Linked DNA regions of Homo sapiens: region 1 is linked to region 2. The links are contacts of gene promoters, found by promoter capture Hi-C in human tissues and cell types (Jung and others, 2019). All regions are on one chromosome and are shown on one strand. The core of a region is centred on a gene start or on the middle of the fragment in contact, and the rest is flanking DNA. Distances in the headings are between cores, read along the strand shown.

Region 1 (3,395 bases), core at 723-3,222, 270 kb after region 2:
AGTGCCTATATTCCAGGTACTAGATGGGCTGGATGCTGGGGACGGAGATATGCAAGGCAAAGTCCTGCTCTCAAATAATTCAGAATAATGGAATAGAGAACACTCAAGGAAACAGAGATTGCAAGGAGGTTCCCTCGCTATAATTATAGGTTAAATTTATAACCTATAGAAAAGATTCTTTGGGACTTAGGCTCTTCAGCAGATTCTTTTCTGGTGATTGCTATTATCTCACCCAACAGGATTAACAACCTAGACTTAGGCCGGGTATGGTGGCTCATGCCTGTAATCCCAGGACTTCAGGAGGCTGAGGTGGATGGATCACCTGAGGCCAGGAGTTCAAGATCAGCCTGGCCAACATGGTGAAACCCCATCTCTACTAAAAATACAAAAACTAGCCCAGGGCAGCCAAGTGTGGTGGCTCACGCCTGTAATCCTAGCACTTTGGGAGGCTGAGGCAGGTGGATCACCTGAGGTCAGGAGTTTGAGAACAGCCTGACCAACATTGTAAAACCCTGTCTCTATTAAAAATACAAAATTAGCCAGGCATGGTGGTGCATGCCTGTAATCCCAGATATTCAGGAGGCTGAGGCAAGAGAATTGCTTGAACCCGGGATGCAGAGGTTGCAGCGAGCCAAGATCGTGCCACTGTACTCCAGCCTGGGCAACAAGAGCAAAACTCCATCTCAAAAAAAAAAAATTAGCCAGGTGTGGTGACACATGCCTGTAATCCCAGCTACTCAGGAGGCTGAGGCAGGAGAATTGCTTGAACCCAGGAGATGAAAACTGCAGTTAGCTAAGATCGCACCACTGCACTCCAGCCTAGGTGACAGAGGGAGATCCATCTCAAGAAAACCCCAGCAAAAAACCTAGTCTTCCTTCCAGAGGACATGGGCCCCTTCCCAACCTTGGTGTCTTACCCTGAAGTCCAGAGGTGGTTCTGCTGGAGGTGTGGGAGGGGAATATTTATAATGGCTAAGCCCAATCCTTACAGTCTTTGCTCTCCTCTGCATTGTAAATGTTCCTTTTGCTCATTTCAGACCTACATTTGGGAGCTGATCCGTCTTGCTCTCAGTTAGGGCCCAGCCCTTCTGTGGGGACCAGGAAAATCTTTGCTCACCTGGAGAAGCTGCTGGTTCAGCCCAACTTTATCTAACGCCAAAGCCTCATTTAAGGCACTGAGCTTGACAGCTGCAGCCCGAAGATCAGCTACTTCTGTCTTCAGGGTGTTTTCAGAACTCGACAGCTCTGCAATTGACTGCTCTGCCTAAAAAACAAAAAGGATTAAAGAGTTTCATATTTCCAATTTTCCTGGAACAGTAAACAGTTCACATTCCCAACACTGCTGCTTTTTGGTACAGAGATCAGTTAATACTCCATTCCCTCTCCTGCATTCTAAACAAGTTTTCCCTTCATTCATTCATTAAGGAGTGAGACAGGACCTCACAGTATAGAGATACCAAAGTTAGGATAGAGAAATGACTATGATTGTAATGATGCCACAGAAAATGTAAGCACAAAGTGCTCTGGGAACTAAAAAAAATATTAATATAGTTTGGAAGAGTCAAATATGCTTGGTAGAGGAGTTGACGATTAAGTTGTGTACTGAGAGATGAGGAACAGTTTGCACATAAAGGAAGAGGAAAGAAGTAGTGCAGAGAAAGGGAAAAGTACACGCAGAGTATTAGAGTCATGAAGAACATGGAATAACTGAGAAGGCAATTACTGCTGTGGCAGGAGCAAAGGATATGAGGTGTTAGGATGGGTTTTGCAGTAGAAGGGGAGGCTAAAACACACTTTGAGGCACATGACAAAAAGCTTTGAATGTGGCACCACAGAGCTAGAAAGCCGTTGAATGGTTTTAAGAGACTGACATAACCAGGTATATACTTTAGAAAGCCCATTCTAATTCCAATATAGAGGGTATGTTGGAATAGAGAACCCAGAAGCAGACTAATGATTGAGGAAAGATGAGGGATCCTGGCTTGAAGGTGAAGAATGAGGCAGGCTGCATGGGAACACACTTTCGAAGCCGCCCACCCAGCAAGTGAGGAGAGGAGGCCACGCACCCTAGCCAGCGCTGCGGTCACTTCCGTTTGCTCTTGCCTCAGTAACTCCCCTTCCAGGTGACTTGACTCCAGGGCTTCCCGAAGAGTGATCAGTTCACTGAGTGATTCTGACTGTTTGGCTTCCAGGCCCATCAGCATCTCCTGACTAAGATGGGAAAGAGAGGGGTCTAGAGGAACTCTTAGGGATGGGCCATAACCCCAAAGGTAACAGGAATATAATCACCTTTGCTATGCAACAGAATGAGGATGGTCTATAAACACTGATAAGGAAAGATTTCTAAGACATGTCAAGTGAAAAAAATCAAGGTGCAGAACAGTATATACATGATACACTACCTTTTATGCAAGAAAGTGGGGGAAGAAAGAATATATGCCCGTATTTGCATGAAGGAGCACTGGCAAGATAAACAAGAAGTCAGCTAAAATGGTTGCCTAAAGGGGGAAGGGAAATGGGATGGAGAAAGCACAAATGAGAGTGAGACTTCTCTGTGTATCTTCTTAGCTCACTGAAGCCTCAAACTCCTGGGGGCTCATGTGATCCTCCCATCTCACCTTGCCATGGCTACAGGCACATGCCACCACATTCAGCTACAGCTAATTTTTTGTTGTTAGGGGTTGTCTGCCCTTCTCCTTGGTACAGGGAGATCATTCTTAGCACAAGTCATGACCCTTATGGCAGCCCTTCAAGCTTCCACTATTCATGCCTACCAGGTACAAGGAACTGGGGCACAGGAGAGGAGGGAAATACAGCAAAGATGAAGATATATCCCTGCTCCCAGTTATTAAAGACCTACCATATGCCAGGTTCTATGCTGGCGTTTTCCAAAACATTGCTCTCATCTTCCCAGCAACCCTTCAAGGTAAATATTATCATCATTCTACAAATAATCTGTCCATGTGACAGAGCCATAATTTAAACTAAGCTTCTGCCTAGCTCAAAGTCCTTGCTTTTTCTGTGACATCATATAGGGGAATTTACAGATTAGCTGGGGCCATTGATTCTGGATTTCCCTTTCTTGACCAGCTAGCACATTTCCCACTACTTCCCTGTATAAGTCTTACCCTTTAGCCAGCCCAGCCTACTCTGAACATGCCATGAACCTTCCTGCCGCCTTTTCTTTGCTAATCTGTTCCTTGAGCTCTTCTCCCACTCTCTGCTAACCAAATAGGTAAAGGCCCAGCTCAAAGTCTACTCTCTCCTCCATAAAGCATTTCCTAGTCTTCAATAATTAGCTGTCACTCCTGTGCTCCCAAAGGACTTGGTCTGAAACTCTATTTAACTCATACTTCATCCAGCCTCATGTCACAGTGAGTTGTCTGTCTTCTGGC
Region 2 (3,244 bases), core at 737-3,236:
AAAAACCAAGTGCCATCTTCATGCTTTCATTTTGCACTAGTCATAATACTGGAATTACCGAGGGGCAGGAAGAGATAGCAAAGGTTAGCTTGCTTTATTTCTGACATATTATGCTTCAATTTCCTGTGACAGTTTTCTTTTCTTTCTTTTTCTTTCTTTTTTTTTTGAGATGGAGTCTCGATCTCTGTCACCCAGGCTGGAGTGCAATGGCATGATCTCAGCTCACTGCAACCTCTGCCTCCCAGGTTCAAGTGATTCTCCTGCCTCAGCCTCCCGAGTAGCTGGGAATTGCAGGCGCCTGCCACCTAGTTTTTTTTTTATTTTTAGTAGAGACAGGGTTTCGCCATGTTGGTCAGGTCTTGAACTCCTGACCTCAGGCGGTCCACCCGCGTCGGCCTCCCAAAGTGCTGGGATTAGATGCATGAGCCACTGCGCCCAGCCTCCAGAGCGAGACTGTCTCAGAAATAAAATAAAAAGAGGATCTGAATTTTCAGAAAAAGGATTAAGGGAGTATTCTAACTACAAAATAACTGTTATTAATAATCCTCTAAGATAAATCCTAACCTGTGTGTAAAGTTAACCTGAGAGGCAAAACCACTTAACATCTATATTTGCTCTAAATAATTTTGTTTAGCAGAAACAGAAGTTAGCTGTTTTGAAGATCAAATATTTACCAGGCGTTTTACAGACATTATATCATTTAATCTTCACTATAGCCCTTCTGAGCCTTCATTCATTAATTTACTGAGGGTCCACTTGGGCAGACATGCCCTGCTAACCTCTAAAAATTCAGTACTGAGCATTACCTGCCTTCCTCAGTCTCAAGTAGCTTAGACTAGCTACTAAGTACGTCCTCTTTTAAATCAGGAAATGAAAGATCCCCTCTGAGAGGTTAATTTGCTTGTCCAAGGTCACACAGTGTTGCAGCAGCTAGTTACACTAATCAAGGCGTCTCATTTCCAATCTTTTCTGCCCTCAATCATTAGACTGTTAAGATTAGAGGGTAAGATTTTTGCTTTGAAGACTTCTTTCCAGTTTTTTTTCCCAGCATCTAGGAGGAAACCTCACACAGTACTGACCAAAGAACAAATGGCTAATTCATACTCTAATTACCTGGCATCTAGAAGACTTCAGGGGAGAGGAGCCAGGTCCCAGGGGGAAGGGGGCCTTTTTTTTTTTGTTGGGGGGGTGTCTTATTTTTTCACCAAATCGTCCAGTAATATTCAGGAAGGGGAACATTTTTGAAGGAACGGTAGCAACCCTGACACAAGAGCTGATTAAATTCGGGGCACAAAACTGATCCCATGCCAAGGGAAGCAAGAGTTTATTTTTTCCACCTTTTTTTTGCTTTTCTCCACTATTTCCAAGGTTGTTTCAAAGCTCGACAGTGGAGGCCGCGCCATTGGCTCCAAATGACAGGGAAATCTATTTTTATTATCTCCCCCTCTCCCCCTACCCCTAAAGATCTCTTCTTCTGGCCTTCTGATACACTTTTCCACTTCCTCTCCACCCTCAGCGGATAATCTGAATATGGCCGTTTTATCCTATCGCCATAAGGACTAGGTTGCCTTATGGCGACCTTGACAGCCATCTGTGTGGGAGGCCGGAGCGGGGGCGATCGGCTGTGCCGGAGGAATCTTCAGATGGCCGTGAGGAGGCGCCACGAGGGGGAGGTGACCGCTGAGCTCCACTCAGCGAAGAGCTCTCTGAAAGATTGACAGGCAGCCTACCAACTGTCTTTGCCCTAGAGACCCGCTCTGTCTCGCGAGATTTGGGTGCTTACGCGGAGGGGGAGTGAAAGGCGCCTCACTGAATGGGGGATGGGAATATCTGTGGCGCAATCATTGCGCGAGATTGGGCTACGGTCGCCGGAGCCATACTTAGGTCTCGCGATACTTCGGCCGCTCAAATTTGGAGCTTGGGGCAGCTTCTCGCGAGAGCCCGTGCTGAGGGCTCTGTGAGGCCCCGTGTGTTTGTGTGTGTGTATGTGTGCTGGTGAATGTGAGTACAGGGAAGCAGCGGCCGCCATTTCAGGGAGCTTGTCGACGCTGTCGCAGGGGTGGATCCTGAGCTGCCGAAGCCGCCGTCCTGCTCTCCCGCGTGGGCTTCTCTAATTCCATTGTTTTTTTTAGATTCTCTCGGGCCTAGCCGTCCTTGGAACCCGATATTCGGGCTGGGCGGTTCCGCGGCCTGGGCCTAGGGGCTTAACAGTAGCAACAGAAGCGGCGGCGGCGGCAGCAGCAGCAGCAGCAGCAGCAATCTCTTCCCGAACACGAGCACCACAGGCGCCCGAAGGCCGGAACAGGTACGGGGCGTTGCGGACCCGCGTATTATCTCAGCTTTCTCGAGGTTTGGCTCCATTTTGGGCTGAGGGGCGCTTTTGGAGGTCTTTAGCGACCGGGGTGGGGGGTGGTTTTCGAGAAATCGGCCCTGTTTCAGTGACCGCGCCCTTATTTTCCAGTCGGGTATAGTCTGGATTCTTGGGGCGGTAGGGACCCCCGAGAGGCCGCGGTAGAATGGTGACCTGTCTCCTTCGAGGCCTGGGCCGGCCGCGACCTCCCAACATGGCGCCAGTTGAACGCTGCCTTGGCTCATAACCCCTCCCAATGGAGGGAGTTTCTCTTTGCCCCTAAAATGGCAGCGCGGGTTTTTGCCCGGAAAGAGGCGCTCTCGTTCGGGTCTCCCAGTTTCTGTTTTTGGAGTTGACAGCAGAGTTTTAAATATTGGATATTGAAGTCTTCATTTTCGTGTGTTTCGTGTAAGAGGCGTTTTGGATTTACTTACGTAAGCCAAACCTGGTTAAAGTGCATGTCACTTTAGTCATTAATTGTAGGGCTTTTGGAGGTTTTTCTTAAGTTTTCGAGTGTGTCGGCTGAGAAGAAAAATTCAGTCGATTTGAAAAACGTTTACCAGGCCGGGCGCGGTGGCTCACGCCTGTAATCCCAGCAGTTTGGGAGGCAGAGGCAGGCGGATCACTTGAGGTTAGGAGTTCGAGACCAACCTCATCAACATGGTGAAACCCCGTCTCTACCAAAAATACAAAAATTAGCCGGGCGTGGTGGCAGGCGCCTGTGATCCCAGCTATTCGGGAGGTGAGGTGGTAGGATCGCTGGAACCTGGGAGGCGGAGCTTGCAGTGAGCCGAGATCGCGCTACTGCACTTCAGCCTGGGCAACTAGAGCGAAACTCCGTCTCAAAAAAAAAAAAAAAAAAAAAGAAAAATGTTTACTCACGGAATCGTCTTG

The links. The method cuts DNA at HindIII sites, captures the fragments that hold promoters and counts their contacts. A contact is called where the count stands out against the background at its distance.
Region 1: a fragment that was not itself captured here is called in contact with the fragment with the promoter of RBM39 in region 2 in 1 of the 25 tissues and cell types used here (heart right ventricle).

Annotation. Positions count from the first base shown.
Region 1 is chr20:35,474,318-35,477,712 of GRCh38, reverse strand. CEP250 (centrosomal protein 250) reads right to left here. Exons shown (of 35, transcript NM_007186.6): 15 at 2,067-2,211; 16 at 1,118-1,264. CEP250-AS1 (CEP250 antisense RNA 1) reads left to right here. Exons shown (of 3, transcript NR_184017.1): 3 at 1,038-3,395. Among named protein-coding and RNA genes, the nearest start is that of CEP250-AS1, 15 kb to the left of the region's middle. The HindIII fragment of the contact is 3,045 bases long and covers 450-3,395 here.
Region 2 is chr20:35,741,002-35,744,245 of GRCh38, reverse strand. RBM39 (RNA binding motif protein 39) reads left to right here and starts at 1,986. Exons shown (of 17, transcript NM_184234.3): 1 at 1,986-2,305. RefSeq lists enhancers at 1,547-1,646, 1,817-2,036, 1,398-2,083, 2,097-2,246 and a silencer at 2,507-2,606. The HindIII fragment of the contact is 31,582 bases long and covers 1-3,244 here.